Regions from separate parts of the Homo sapiens genome. Here all the other regions are linked to region 3. Evidence: promoter capture Hi-C in 16 types of primary human blood cells and fetal thymus (Javierre and others, 2016). All regions are on one chromosome and are shown on one strand. The core of a region is centred on a gene start or on the middle of the fragment in contact, and the rest is flanking DNA. Distances in the headings are between cores, read along the strand shown. Region 1 has its middle 3.0 kb from the start of DANCR. Region 2 overlaps USP46 (ubiquitin specific peptidase 46). Region 3 holds the start of REST (RE1 silencing transcription factor). Region 4 overlaps FIP1L1 (factor interacting with PAPOLA and CPSF1).

Region 1 (3,391 bases), core at 540-3,039, 4.2 Mb after region 3:
TTTTTGTATTTGTGAAAGAGTTTATACTTTGTGCTAAGAATGATGGAAAGCTGTTCAAGTGTTTTGTTTGTTTGTTGTGTGTGTGTGTGTGTGTTTTAACAGGGGAATGATAGGATCTGATGTAGGGTGTGGTTTCGGGTGTGATTAAGGTGGTTTTGGTGGGAAGAAGAAGTTGAGTAAAATTTACCAATAAACCCTAGCACCTAGTCATCATCTTGCAGATATTCATAGGATCTTGTTGAAATTGGAGAGTGAATACCAGTTTGTTGTCCCTTCACCTTTCTCAAGAGTCTTCCAAACATATCTCTAGTTGGAATCTGTTCTTTTTATAGTCCCTTTGGATAGCTGAGAGATATTACCTTTCCTTTAACTATGGCAATGCATGTGGTCAGGCAACATGGGAAAATATAGGAAAAGAGAAGTAAATCTCCTTAGTAAAGAGACTAATGCAGGAATTCAGCAGCAACCTAGCAGGGGCTGGGGGTAGTTGTGCAGAATGTCTTCCCTCCTCCCCAAATCAGGGGATAAAAATGGGAAGGAATTATGAAAGAATTATATTTGTGTTTGATTTAAGAGAAATTCACCTTAATCTGAAGGCTTCACATTTCTGGCCAAATACCTCAATTCAATGAACTTACAAACAGTTCATTCGAAATAGTAAAACTGTTCACTGGGCTTAGAGGAGAAATGTCTATTAAATACAGAGACAATAGAACAAAATAAACTGATTTATAATTGCTTTTGAGTTAGGTTCAAGATAATATATATTTGGTACTAAAAATCCTTATAATGCAGTTTAAAGAGAATTGTTTCAATTGGGTTTATTATTAGGCCTAATTTTTTTAGAGAAATTAGTATGTCTAATCAATCCTTCTTTCTTTCTTTTCTTTCTTTCTTTTCTTTCCCTCCCTCCCTCCCTTCCTTCCTTTTCTTTTCTCTCTCTCTCTCTTTCTTGCTCTCTCTCTCGTCTCTCTCCCTCTCCCTTTCTTTTCCCTTTGACAGGGTCTTACTCTATCACTCAGGCTAGAGTGCAGTGGCACAATCATAGCTCACGGGTCAGGCTCCAACTCCTAGGCTTAAGTGATCCTCCCACCTCAGCCTCCCAAAGCATTGGCATTACAGATGTGAGCCACCACGACTGGCCAATCTGTCCAATTTGAGGGAGTTCAGTCTCTCCAAATTTAATCTGTCGGAAGTTGAATAAAGGGACCTAGAAGAATACCCACCAGCCCTCCAGATATTCTCAGCTGGATTTCCCAGAGACACCACAAAATCACTCTTTTGGCCCAGAATTTATTCTCTTCTTCCACCCCTCCACTTCCTTTTTGTGTCCTCTGTCTTGAAGAATAACAATTCCTTAGCCCAGCTGTCCAGGACTTAGCGCAAATGCTTTCCTTTCTCAGTCTCCTCCTCCATTTCTCAGCCTCCTACTTCCTCATCTTCTTCCATGCGGGCAGTTCTTCCTATTGACCACCATGACTCTGCCTCTTCTTTCCAGCCCTTGCTTGTACTTTAGTTCTAGCTCCATCATTTACTTTCAGCATCATCCACTGCAGTAGCCTCCACCTTCATTCAGCTTCCCTGTCTCCAGTGTTCCCTTCCCCATGAATTCTTCCACACTGCTGTCATCTCCATTGGAAATTGTTAAATGGCTCTTTACTGCCACCAGAAACAAAACCAACCTCCACCTATCTACTTCCTCCTCTCACTTCCCACATACCTATTATAATCCAACCATGCTGAACTAATGGCAGTCCCCTGAATGCTGTCCAGCACTCTCCCATACAACTTTCTGCAGTGATGGAAATGTTCTATATCTCTGCTGTCCAGTATGGTAGCCACATGTGGCTATTGAGTACTTGAAATGTGACTAGCACAACACAAGACCTGGATCTTAAACTTCATTTACTTTTAACTAATTTAAATTTAAATAGTCATGCTGGGCCTGGTGGTGGTATGCCTATAATCCCAGCTACGTGGGCAGAAGTCTGAGGTGGGAGGATCCCTTGAGGCCAGAAGTTTGAGGTTGCAGTGTGCTCAGACAGTGCCTGTGAATAGCCACTGCACTCCAGCTGCCGCAATATAGCAAGACTCCATCTCTACAGAAAAAAAAAATTAGCCAAGCATGGCAGAACAGGCCTGTAGTCCCAGCTACTCAGGCAGCTGAGGCAAGAGGATCACTTGAGCTCAGGATTCAAGGCTGCAGTGACCTATGATGGCACTACAGCACTCCAGACTGGGTGACAGAGCAAGACATCTAAGATAAATAAATAGATAAAAATAAAAGTCACATGTGGCTGGTAGATACTACATTGAACTGCACAATAGTTTACATCCTTGCTTCTCAAAGCGTGGTCCATCAGCCTGGGCATTCCCTGGAAACTTGTAGTAATGCATAATCTCAGGCCTCATCCCAGATCTGCTGATTCGGAATCTATATTTCAACAAGATCCCCAGGTGATCTGTATGCACATTAAAGTTTCAAGAGCCACAGCTCTAATAAGCTCTTGCTTCCTTGCCTTTGCATGTGGTGTTCTCTTCGTCTGGGCTGCCTGTCACCTGTTCTTTTTTCCTTAACTCCTACTTATCCCTAGACCTATCTACACTCACAACCTGCTGTTAATATGGTAATCCAGAGGGTAGGGGATGAAGGATATGGGGGAGAGGAGTGAGAGGGAAGGAGAAAATATCTATGATAAAACCACTTGTATCTTGTAATCTTAAATAACTATATGTATGTAGCTATATAATATAAATACATACATACTATGTATATATTTATAGTATAGTATGTATATATGTATAGTATTCTATGTATATACATGTACAAGTATAGTTTGTGTGTGTGTGTGTGTGTGTGTGTGTGAAAATATGGTTACTACAATGTCAGTGGTATTTCTCTCAAGGTGATGGGATTTCATGTGTCTTACTTTCTAAAAATATTTTTGAGGTATCATTCAAATTCTTTACAAAGAGCATGTATTACTGATATAATAATTTTCATTACAGAAAACAAAATAAGGGCTATATTAGCCTTTTGTAAGTAACTTCAAGAACACGATATCGGAATAAAGTATAGCGTTTTACAAAAAAGGAGAGCCCCCACCTTCCACAGTTAGAGACACTCCCTTGTCTACAACACAAGAGCGGGCAGTAGGCATGGCATAGGCAACAACCAACCTGAAAGCAGAAGAATGATCTCTTGTGATGCCTCCACTGCTGTCTCCTGTGTCTACCCTCCCACCCCCACAGCAGACATGGTCCTAGCACCACGACAATCACCTCTTCTCCATCCCCTGCCTGACTCCTAGCTAGGGCTGGAGTCTGAAAAGGGGCCTTAGGTGTACAGAGAAGGTCACCTGGAATCACTAGAAGCATCTGCAGAAGTATA
Region 2 (3,423 bases), core at 70-2,569, 4.3 Mb after region 3:
TTGCAGGGTGAGATGATGTGTGTTTTGCCTACATTCTTTAGACTGCACCCCGCCTCCCCTCTAGCCCCCTCCCAAGCGGGTCCCCGGAGGCAACACGTGCTCTTACAGTGCCAGTTTGAGGAAAACCTCCCTTGAAGCTAGTAATACTGGCCCCTAAAGGGAATCCAAGGAAGCTTGATGGAGAAGCCCTGGTGTAAGGTGATCTGGCTGCCCTTCCCCCATCACATAGCTTTTTAAATCTTCTGTCCCACATTCTGTTGCAAGATCAACACATGGCAAAGGAGCATTAAGAAGCCTTGTGTTAGCTCAGGGGTGGAATTGAGACCCGCTGGCTTCAGCTTTCAGCACAATGGGACGTGCCACTGTCACGGCCAGCAAAGCAAATGCTGGGGCCTCCCAGAGTGATAGCTGCACAGGTACTGGTTGGTGCCGGGCGAGTTCCATACGGGGAGTGGATCCTAGAGCCTTTCTGTTTTCTCTTTTTTTCCTTTCTCTGCGAGGAGTCAGATTTCCTCTTATTCCTGTGGAGGGGCTGCTTGTGAAGAGGTGATGCCTTCTCAGTTTCTCTCCTACGACCAGTTCCTGAGGGAACTGTGAATCGGGAGCAGCTTGAATACTCTTTTATGTCTGTTGGTGTGGCCGCAGGCCTAAGGATACTACAGGGTAGTGAGGCTCCGACCCAGCCCTTGGTGGTGTTCTTGTCCTGCTTGTGTGTGGTTACACCTCTCTGTGTAGAAGCAGGCTGGAAACTTGAGAGCTAGCATGCCCCTAGAGGAAGCCAGCCCCCAACCTCCCCCCACGCGTCCCCCCACCCACCCTCAGTGCTGCGGGGGCTTTCTGGCACACCTGGGCTGAATGTCACAACGTGTTTCAGTGAAACTCAGTCAGGGAGACAGGGTGTGGGGAGGACCTGAGAGGAGCAGGCCAATACTGCCCTGAGAGTTGACATCTCAGGTGGAGACCTAAAAAGGTACCAAATTTAGGACCATCACCCAGATGAAGTGAGGAACCAGTAATTCATTAAGTAAGGAGTCTGATGTTGTATTTAGACGCCATGTCTAGAGAGTGACAGAGTTTGGGTTCTAATGTCAGACTTCCTGGGTTCAGGTCCTGGTTCTTTTTTTTTTTTTTTTTTTTTTTGACAAGGTCTCACACTGTCACCCAGGCTGGAGTGCAGTGGCATGAACATGGTGGCTCACTGCAGCCTCCACTTCCCAGGCTCAAGTGATTCTCCCACCTCTGCCTTCTGAGTAGCTGGGACTACAGGCACGTGCCACCATGCCTGGCTAATTTTTAAATTTTCCATAGAGACTGGGTCTCCCTATGTTGCCCAGGCTGGTCCCTAATACCTGGGCTCAAGTGGTCCTCCCACCTCAGCCTCCCGAAGCGCCAAATTACTGCCGTGAGCCACCATACCCGGCAGGTCCTGGTTCTAACACATGTTGGCTTTGTGTCCTTGAACAAGTTGTCCGGTCTTAGACTTTCCTTATCTACCAAAAGGTGATGTTAATATTGTTGTATTACTCGGGCACAGGGCCTGGTACATGGCTAGAACTCAGTGAGTGTCATTGTCAACATCATCTTTCTCATTGTTATGTCATCTACCAGGTGTTTAAGGGACAGTGGAGATCATGCCATTTCAGACCTGGTGGAAGCAACCACTAATATAAACACCTCCCATGTATAGGAAGGCTGGAGTGGGAATCCTTAACCCCGCCCCCTGCTCAGGTCAATCCCCCACCCACCGCCCCCACTGTCCCTCCCAGTCTTCCTTCCCAGAGGAGAAGGCTGGGTATGAGGAAACTGCTGTCTTTTCACTGGATCAGACGTAAATATTAACTGGACCTCTCTTTAGATTCTTTGCTCAATAATGAATTGTTTTCAGGTAGGTGTCTTACAGGTCCCTTCTCACTGCTTAGCTCCTCTGTGGGCCTCTTACTGACCCTTCCCGCTCCTAACTTTGGTCCCAGCTGGTTTGAGTAGTTGTAGTAAGAGCAAATGGTGATTGCATTTTTTTCTTAAGCACATCGTTTAACATATTTTGAACAGGCTGATATGTGTTCAGAAAGGATATTAGAAGGTACCATTTTTCTGGGTAACAGGAAAAAACGAAGATCTATCATTGAAAGTGGATTTGTTTCCTCCACCAGATAAGAAAGGACCCAGCAGAGCAGAAATCAAATTTGTAGCAGATACTTCGTGTGATTGAGAACTAAACATCCCCTCTTTTCCCCATACTTCTTGTGCCAGTTTTAGTTATAGGAAACTTGGAAAATATCTTCATTCCTCCACTTACCCACCCACTTGCTGAAGTTTTATTGTTCACTGGAAGTTTAGTACTAGTTTCTATTTGTTTTAATTTTTCTTCCATGTGAATTCCTGCCATGGTAATTCTTGATGAACTTGCTCAGGGCAAGGCAGCTTGGCCACACAGCAGTGTGTGGTTCAGAGATAGTAAAGCTTGTTTGGCTGGTGTGTTGTAATTTTCATAATGCACTAGCTGCTACCAAGCATGAGGAAATGTCTTCTGTTGATAATCCTCTGATTTTTGTCCAGACCAATGGATTTAACTTCCTATATATTTTTATGGCCCTGCAAATGGAAAGTTTTTGTTTTTGGGTTTTTTAAGTTTCCTATTTGAAGAGCTTGAGAAATTTTCTAAAAAGGAAGCATTAGTTAGAAGAAACCAAATGTGACATACCAATGCAAGTTGCTTCAGATCATCTAATCTTATTTCATTTGTTAATAATGCTGTAAGATGTACCTCTGAGAAAATGCTGTGTATCAAATGATTACGAGTTTTGTTCCGATAAATGGCCATCTGTTGAGGACCTGCTATGTTGGTGTTGGCACAGACTATACTCAAGTGCTTAATAAATGAATGAGGTGAGTCCCTGTCCCCAAGGGGCTCAGCTGTTCCTTATCTTGTGGGTGTTAACATTGGTAAAGATGAAACAATTTCAATACAGTGTTATATCAGCACAGATAGAAGTTGAATAAACTCCCAGCAGCTGTACAGTGGAAAGACCGATTAACACAACAGGACATTTCAAAAATACATTCTCGTTTGACCAAAGTTGTATACACATTCTGCTTCTGGCTTTTATTTTATATGAGGACATGATTGTAGTCAATGTGAGTTAGAATTGAAATCTGCACCATTGGGTGTCTCTCCAGTTAAGCATGAATCTAATGGTGCTTTTGGGCAAACTGTTGTATTTCCGGAGACCTTAGTTTTTCTCATCTTGTAAAACTGATTTTCTGTTTTTGGTCATGAAAAACTTCATGGTAGAATTCCTTAGATAAAGGCTTTATGAAAATCTGCACCTCTTAATTGGTTAGCAACCACTTCATTACCTAACTACCTTGTTTAAAACTGTATTGAACTTATGACATGTTAGCATTTTAGCGTCTGTAGAACAG
Region 3 (3,397 bases), core at 687-3,186:
CTTGCATTGTGCTTGACTTGGCCTACTTGCCTAGTGGAAGCCATTACAAGATCACCTTCTTCAAAACAAGTTGGGCTTTCTAGATGCTACGTTACTTCTCAATCTAAAAGGTGCCATTCTCAAACGAAGTGTTCACTCGCAAATTAAAAAAAGTAAGAAGTTCTAAGAAAATAAAGTTAAACCGAAAATACAAAAAGTAACCCGCTTCACCCAAGTGTATAAACACAAACCGGTTTAGTTCTACGTACCAACAAAAGTTGGAAGCAAATGCCATCACAGAAAACAGAGGGCGAAGGCTGTCCCGGGGCTGAACAGCCCAAGCTATTGGGTAATTTGGCCCAACATCGACTTTTCTAATTGCTCCCTAACCCCTAACTGCCACCCCAAATGGAATTTTAACGATTGTTAGGAAGACCGTCCAGGCACAGCCCGAAAGCCCAACGTGCTGCACGAATTCCTCCGTGCTGCTGCCACCAGCGCCTGCCTCGGCGGCGGCATTCCTAACTGAAATAGGCATTCGGCCATTTTCTCAAAATACCAAACACAAAGCAGCTCTTTGCAAACTCGGGCGCTCTCGCTTCCTCTCGCCTCGGCCCGCTCACTGCACACATTTACACACCAACTCGCGGGAGTCGCCCCGACACTCGTCCTGAGCCTTTTCCTGCGCTCTCCAACACTAAAACGGGGGAGGGGATCAAGCTCGAGGCGCTGTTTGGCCGGAACCAGTCCTCCCCGAGTCCAGGCAGCCCCCTCCCCAGCCCTAGGGCCCCCGTCCCGGGAGAGGACGGAAAGTTACCGCGCAGCCGGCGTCCGGGCTTCTCCGACCGCCCCCGGGCCCCTCCGACCGCCCCGGGGCTCGCCCAACGCCCAGGGCCGGGGAGGCTCCGCGGGCGCCCTCGCGAGGCGTCGGGCTCCGAGCGCCGGAGGGGGCCCCCACACGGGCCAGCCGCCACCCCCGCGCCCCGGAAGTTTGCGAACTTCACTCCCCCACGGCGCCCGGCAGGACGCGCGCCCCAGCCCCGCCAGCTCCAGCGGTCGGGTGGCCGGACGCGGGGGCCAGCGGCGCCGGACGGCTGAAGCGCAGAAATCGCTGTCCAGCCCCGCAGGCGGAACCGCCCGGGCCCCGGGGCTGACTCAACCCGCCCGGCCGCACTCAACGGCGCCTTCCGGCGACAGGGAGAGGCCCTGGGGGAGGGGGCCAGGAGGGCCGCGGGCCGGCGCGGGGCTGCGGTGGGACCCGGGGGCAGGAGGAGGAAGCAGAGGAAGTTTCAGGACTACGGGCCCGAGCAGCTCCGCTCCTTGGCCTCAAAGGACCTGACTCGGTGGAGCGTCCGGGCCAGCGCGGAGGCGGCGTCCCAGCCTCCAGTGGGGAGGGGGTCCAGGCGACGCGCTGCTCCCAACAAACGCCCCCAGCCCCCGGGCGGCTGCTGTGTAACCCGATCCTGCTCGGCCGCCAGCCCCCGCCCGGCGGGGCCGCCGCCGCCGGAGCCACAGTATCTGCAAATCAGCCCTGGACAGCGCCTGACTCCGCGTCCTTCCGCGCCCTCCCCGTCCCGCCACTGCCGCCGCCCGGGCGGCCCTCCCCCACCCTGACCGAGCCCCCAGCCCAGCGCCCCACTTACCGGCCTTCCTCGGTGAGGAGGGGCGGGCGACCCTGAGTCGCCGCTCCTTCTCCGACTACTTTTCTTTGTTGCTGGAGTTTCGGGGGAGAGGTGGGGGAGGGTGGTAAAGTTGGGTGCTGGGGCCGTCGTGGACCAAGAAGGCCCAGGAGTGGGGCTGCAGAGGGTGCTCAGGCCTCCGGGCCTCGCCCTGCCGTCTCGGCTGCGGCAGCCGCCGCCAGGGTCTGGGGCCCCGGGCCTCGGCGGCGCTCGCTCCGCTGCTGCGCCGCGAGCTCGCGGCAGCCGCACATTCCAACACAGGACGCTGCGCCGCGCACCCAGTCCGCGCCGCCGCCGCCGCCACCGCCCGCGGGACACGCCCCCTCCGACGCCCGCGCGCGCCCGCGAGACACGCCCCCTCCGACGCCCGCGCGCGTGGCCGCTAGGCGCGCCCCGCCCCTCTACCAAGCAAGGAGTGCCCCAGTCTCCAGCTCGCCTGGGGGCGCGTCTAGGGGGAGCCGCCCGTAATCCTCCCGGCCCCTCACTCCTGCCCTTAGGTCAGAAAAGAGGCGGGCCCCACTCCCTTTCTCGATTTCTATTACAAACAAACAACAAAAGTTCCCCCCAGCCCTGGCGTGCATGCATGAGAATAGAGCTGTTAAAAGAAGAATCCGCAGGCTTTGACGGGTCTCTTTAGAGCTATTGTCACCGGCCTCTCAAGTCTAAAGCGCTCCAAGATACCCTTCAGATCTCTTCAAGTCTCCACCCATAGCTGTCCTTGACTAATTAAGCTTCGTTTTAAGCGTCTGCGGTAAAAAAAAAAAAAAAAAAAAAAAGTCTTCCAAATTTCAAACTACCGGAGGGGGAATGCAGTCAGTTTGGGAGAAGTGAGAAGAAAACGTTTCAGGAAGGAGGTTATGGACTCAGAAAGCGTGAGCGTGAGGACTGAGGGGACAGATCCCTAGACGTGGCAGGTAGCAGGTCATTGCTGAGCCCGGAAAGCACGACTGCAGGGGAGGAATTACCCTCAGATGACAGAAGAAAAGGTGGTGAGGACGGGGAGGCTGCCTGGGGCCACGGTGTGTCGGAGTAACCGGGCTCACGTCTATGAAGCGGGATAACCAAGCGGAATGCCTAGCCCATAGTCATGTGCTAACAAAAACAAAAACAACAAAAAAGAACAGAGAGAGAGTAATTCCACCCCCTTTCACACCTGAAAGAGCTTCTCAGTCTGCCTTTGATACCTTCCTAAACGTCAGTCGTAAGTCACACCTGTCCTCAGAAGCATAGTGGCTCCCCATGACTACAAGCTTAAAGCTTAAACCCCTTAGTGTGGCGTTCAAGCCCCTACTTAACTTGACCTAGATAAGTCTGACTATTGCTTGGTATTACAACATAAGTAGCAAGTGCTATGGGGGTTTGCCAGTAGGAAGATGGATCCCAAGAGGTTCTAGAAACTTTTCACAGTAGATGTATTCAGTCTGACCTTGGAGAATGAGGAAAACTTCAACAGGTGGAAAGTAGGGCAAGGAACACTCTACACAGTGAAAAGGGCAAGCTCAAAATCCCAAAGCAGTTGTTAAGACATCCCAGCTTCTCCTCAGGGTACCTCACTTCCTTCTCTTTGAAGTTCCTTTATTTGTTTCTCTTAGGGCAGGGCTTCCAGACTCTTCATTTCCTGGTATACCCACGTAGGACCTCTGTTTCCCTCTATCTGGACAATATATTACTAATTAATGCAGTCTCCGATGCAAGATGAAATGAAGACCCTAAGGTGCTCGACCACCAAAAGTTTCAAT
Region 4 (3,475 bases), core at 802-3,301, 3.5 Mb after region 3:
AGGAAAACAATTTTAAGATTCACAGTGTCACAAATACAATGTACCAAATCAATTAAAGAATTAAAAAAAAAAACCCCAAAGCATAAGAAGTACCAAATAGTTAAGTAGAAGCTCAGTTATTCTTGGTATTCTTGTATACCTAGAAGAGGCCCTACATGCAAATTCTATATTTGTGAAGATTTTACTTTGGCTCTTAAAGGCTATTTTGTGCTTAATCACATCATAGTAAATAAGTAGATCACATAGGCAAAATACTTTTTTGTATACAACTTCAAACTTCCGGAACAATAACTTCCTTCCTTTTATAGGATTAAAATGCACAAATATTCATAGGACCAATGATATGTTCACCTCACAAAGTATCAATGGCATGCAGGCATGCAGTCAGGGACTGTCACATACATTAAAAAGCAACGTTAAAAAATCGTAACAGTGAAAGGTTGTGGGCTCAAAACTTGCTCTGAAAACCAGGCTCACTATATTCAGTAGATTTATAACCATTCAATTCCTTGAAAGCAATAAACATCAAGCCTTTGCACATACTATTTTCCTCTGCAGTCTTTCTACTATTTCTTTTCCTCATTTTAATTCCTATATATGTTTTTGATGGCACCAGATGAAGTAGGAGATGTAAGAAAGGGCCAGATAACACCTGATACTGAAGGTAATGTAAAATGCCAGCTTGCTTTCTATGTAAACTGTGAAGCTATTGATAAAGATTTGTATCAGTAACTGGATTTCAAAGCCTTATGTTACCGGTTTTGGTACACCATTTTCAGCAGTTTCATCTTCAATTCCAGATGGAGGATTAGCACTACAAACAACAAAAGTAAGTATACATGTCAGGCATTACTTTTCGGAAGTACAGATAGATTATATTAGTATTTCTAAGCTTTAATAAAGCTCCTAAAATTATTGTCTCCACTGGAGACAGTAATGGTAAAATCTGACTGTCTTATTCCGTTATTTCTAGTAACTTGCAGAAGACAAGTACTCAACATTGTAAGTAGAATGCAAATGCCAGGCTGGGCGTGGAGGCTCATGCCTGTAATCCCAGCACTTTGAGAGGCTGAGGTGGGTGGATCACGAGGTCAGGAATTCAAGACCAGCCTGGCCAAGATGGTAAAACCCCGTCTCTACTAAAAATACAAAAAAAAAAAAATTAGCCAGGCATGGTGGCGGGCACCTGTAATCCCAGCTACTCGGAAGGCTGAAGCAGACAATTGCTTGAACCCAGGAGATAGAGGTTGCAGTGAGGCTGCAGTGATCATGCCACTGCACTCTAGCCTGGGCGACAGCGTGAGATGCTGTCTCAAAAAAAAAAAAAAAAAAAAAAAAGAATGCAAATGCCTTCACAGTTTATTAATGATTTATAATTTGATGGTGGGCTATAATTCAAGCTTTTTACACATTTTAAAAATATATGACAAACTTAATCAATTTTAATTATCCTAAATCAATTTGATCTTTACAGTGGCATTTTATAGCACAATCACCAAATAAAGCAAAATGAAAGATAAAAAGTCAAAACATAACTGTTATATTTTCATTGTTCTACTGCTTGCTTCAAGAAAACAAATATGCAGCTATAATTGTTCAGTACATTTACCTCCTGCTGAAATAAGCTTCTAGGTAGCCAGAAGCAAGTCCCATTTGCTTTCTACGTCACAAAACAGTATCCCTTCTTTAGTCAAAACTTGGATAGATATAACACAATTGGAGACTGCAATGCAATGTTTAAGAAAAACAGAGGCTTCAGCAATGAGCCAGTCAGTAGGAAACGGGCAAATTCTAATAGCAGGAACTTTGGTAGAGCAATGCAATGATGTACCAAGCCAGATAGCAGTAGGTCTGGCAGAGTACCTTTCTTCAATAGGCCTACTCTTTTGGAAGTTTTAATTTTCTATCACCATTAAAATGTTAGAAACATGATAAAATTTTAAGCTTTTTCTAGAAAAATAACACTGTAAAGGAAATTGTTTTTTCCCCCATAGGATGAAATCAACTCAACGGCTCCCCAAATGAAGTTGCAGAAAGGAATATAAAGCTATGTTGACAGTGACACTCAGGGAAGGTAGAAGGTTCCCTCCAATAAATTTTAGCAAGTTGTGTATTGCGGAATTAAAATTAAAGAATGTTTGATTAGAAAGTAAGCTTTTAAAATTGTAACCAATAAAAATAAAAATTAATGGGATAAAGATTATCATATAGAAAAGTATATTTGATTGTAAAACTATACCTGTAATTAATTTCTTGACCAACTGAAGGAATGGGTACAAAGAAATATTCAATCACTTTCATAACATAAACTAAAACTAATCTCAACTTTGTGGTTGAGATCAGAATTAGGAACTGAGTTGAATATATAAATTTTAAAATGAAATAACATTTCAGATAATATACCAATGAGTGAAAAGACTATAGGGGATTTTTTGGGTAAGGAAGCTGAACTGTAGTTTCAGCTCCTCCTAAGCTATTTCTACTTCCATTTCTCACTTTTTCCCTCTATCCATTTTTTGTTGTAACAGCTTTGAGATGCAATTCACATATTATACAATCTACCCATTCAAACAGGACAACTGAGTTTTAATATGGTCACATAGTCCAACCATCACAACTATCTAATTCCAGAATGTATGCATCACTCCCAAAAGGAACTTTGTATACATTAGCAATCACTCACCCAACTCTTAGTAACCACTAATCTGTCTCTACGGACTGACATCTTTAGCTTCCACATTTGTAAGGTTCATCCGTGTTGTAACATCTACCAGTACTTCATTTTATTGTCCTTGCCAAATAATATTCCGCTGTATGGATATAACACATTTAATCTATCCATTCATCAGTTGATGCAGCTGCGAGGTTTTCTTTTTCCACTTTCTATTAAGAATAATGCTGCTATGAATATTCACGTACAAGTTTTTGTCTGAATATGTTTTCATTCCTCTAAGGTGGAGGACTCACATGGTAACTCCATGTTTCACCATTTGAGAAAATGGCCAGGCTGTTCTTCAAAGCAGCTGCACCATTTTACAATCCCACCAGAAGTGTATGAGGGTTTTATTTCCCCATATCCTCACTAACACCTGTTTTATCTTTTCGATTGCAGCTTACTCGGTATGAAGTTGTATATCTTCCACTTTTTAAACCCAAATATTCCTTAAAATCTTCTAACTACCTCTCCCTCCATTACAGACACTAATGCATGTGGTCAGGGTAAAGCCGACATCTCCATGTACTTCTTTACATGGCTTGCTTTTTGAAATCTGGGGTAAAATTCTGACTCCCTGTATATGTTCTATAAATGAACACTTACATCTTTCTTACAATCTAACAAAGAAATCAACCTTATAACAAATCAGCTAATTACATTTTGAATGCAAACAATACATAGCATTGAAATTACAACCAAACTGCCATTATATCATCAAAAATGTTAATAAACTGGAAAAGCAGTAGTTTGGAGTGTTCC

Evidence for each region. Contacts are between HindIII fragments. The CHiCAGO score rates a contact against its expected background, and 5 or more counts as called.
Region 1: a fragment that was not itself captured here is called in contact with the fragment with the promoter of REST in region 3 in 3 of 17 cell types (activated CD4 T cells, fetal thymus and non-activated CD4 T cells); the score reaches 6.4 in activated CD4 T cells.
Region 2: a fragment that was not itself captured here is called in contact with the fragment with the promoter of REST in region 3 in 1 of 17 cell types (activated CD4 T cells); the score reaches 6.4 in activated CD4 T cells.
Region 4: a fragment that was not itself captured here is called in contact with the fragment with the promoter of REST in region 3 in 5 of 17 cell types (fetal thymus, non-activated CD4 T cells, total CD4 T cells and 2 more); the score reaches 16.5 in fetal thymus.

The regions. Positions count from the first base shown.
Region 1 is chr4:52,707,713-52,711,103 of GRCh38, reverse strand. No RefSeq gene overlaps it. Among named protein-coding and RNA genes, the nearest start is that of DANCR, 3.0 kb to the left of the region's middle. The HindIII fragment of the contact is 5,324 bases long and covers 1-3,391 here.
Region 2 is chr4:52,654,758-52,658,180 of GRCh38, reverse strand. The region is part of intron 1 of USP46 (ubiquitin specific peptidase 46); the gene reads left to right. Among named protein-coding and RNA genes, the nearest start is that of USP46, 2.8 kb to the left of the region's middle. The HindIII fragment of the contact is 2,287 bases long and covers 176-2,462 here.
Region 3 is chr4:56,906,439-56,909,835 of GRCh38, reverse strand. It overlaps REST (RE1 silencing transcription factor), which reads right to left and starts at 1,936. Exons shown (of 4, transcript NM_005612.5): 1 at 1,623-1,936. RefSeq lists enhancers at 1-619, 1,550-2,479 and silencers at 710-1,559, 1,670-2,059, 2,159-2,453. The HindIII fragment of the contact is 2,443 bases long and covers 1-2,391 here.
Region 4 is chr4:53,379,617-53,383,091 of GRCh38, reverse strand. FIP1L1 (factor interacting with PAPOLA and CPSF1) reads right to left here. Exons shown (of 18, transcript NM_030917.4): 4 at 757-814. Among named protein-coding and RNA genes, the nearest start is that of FIP1L1, 3.7 kb to the right of the region's middle. The HindIII fragment of the contact is 210 bases long and covers 1,947-2,156 here.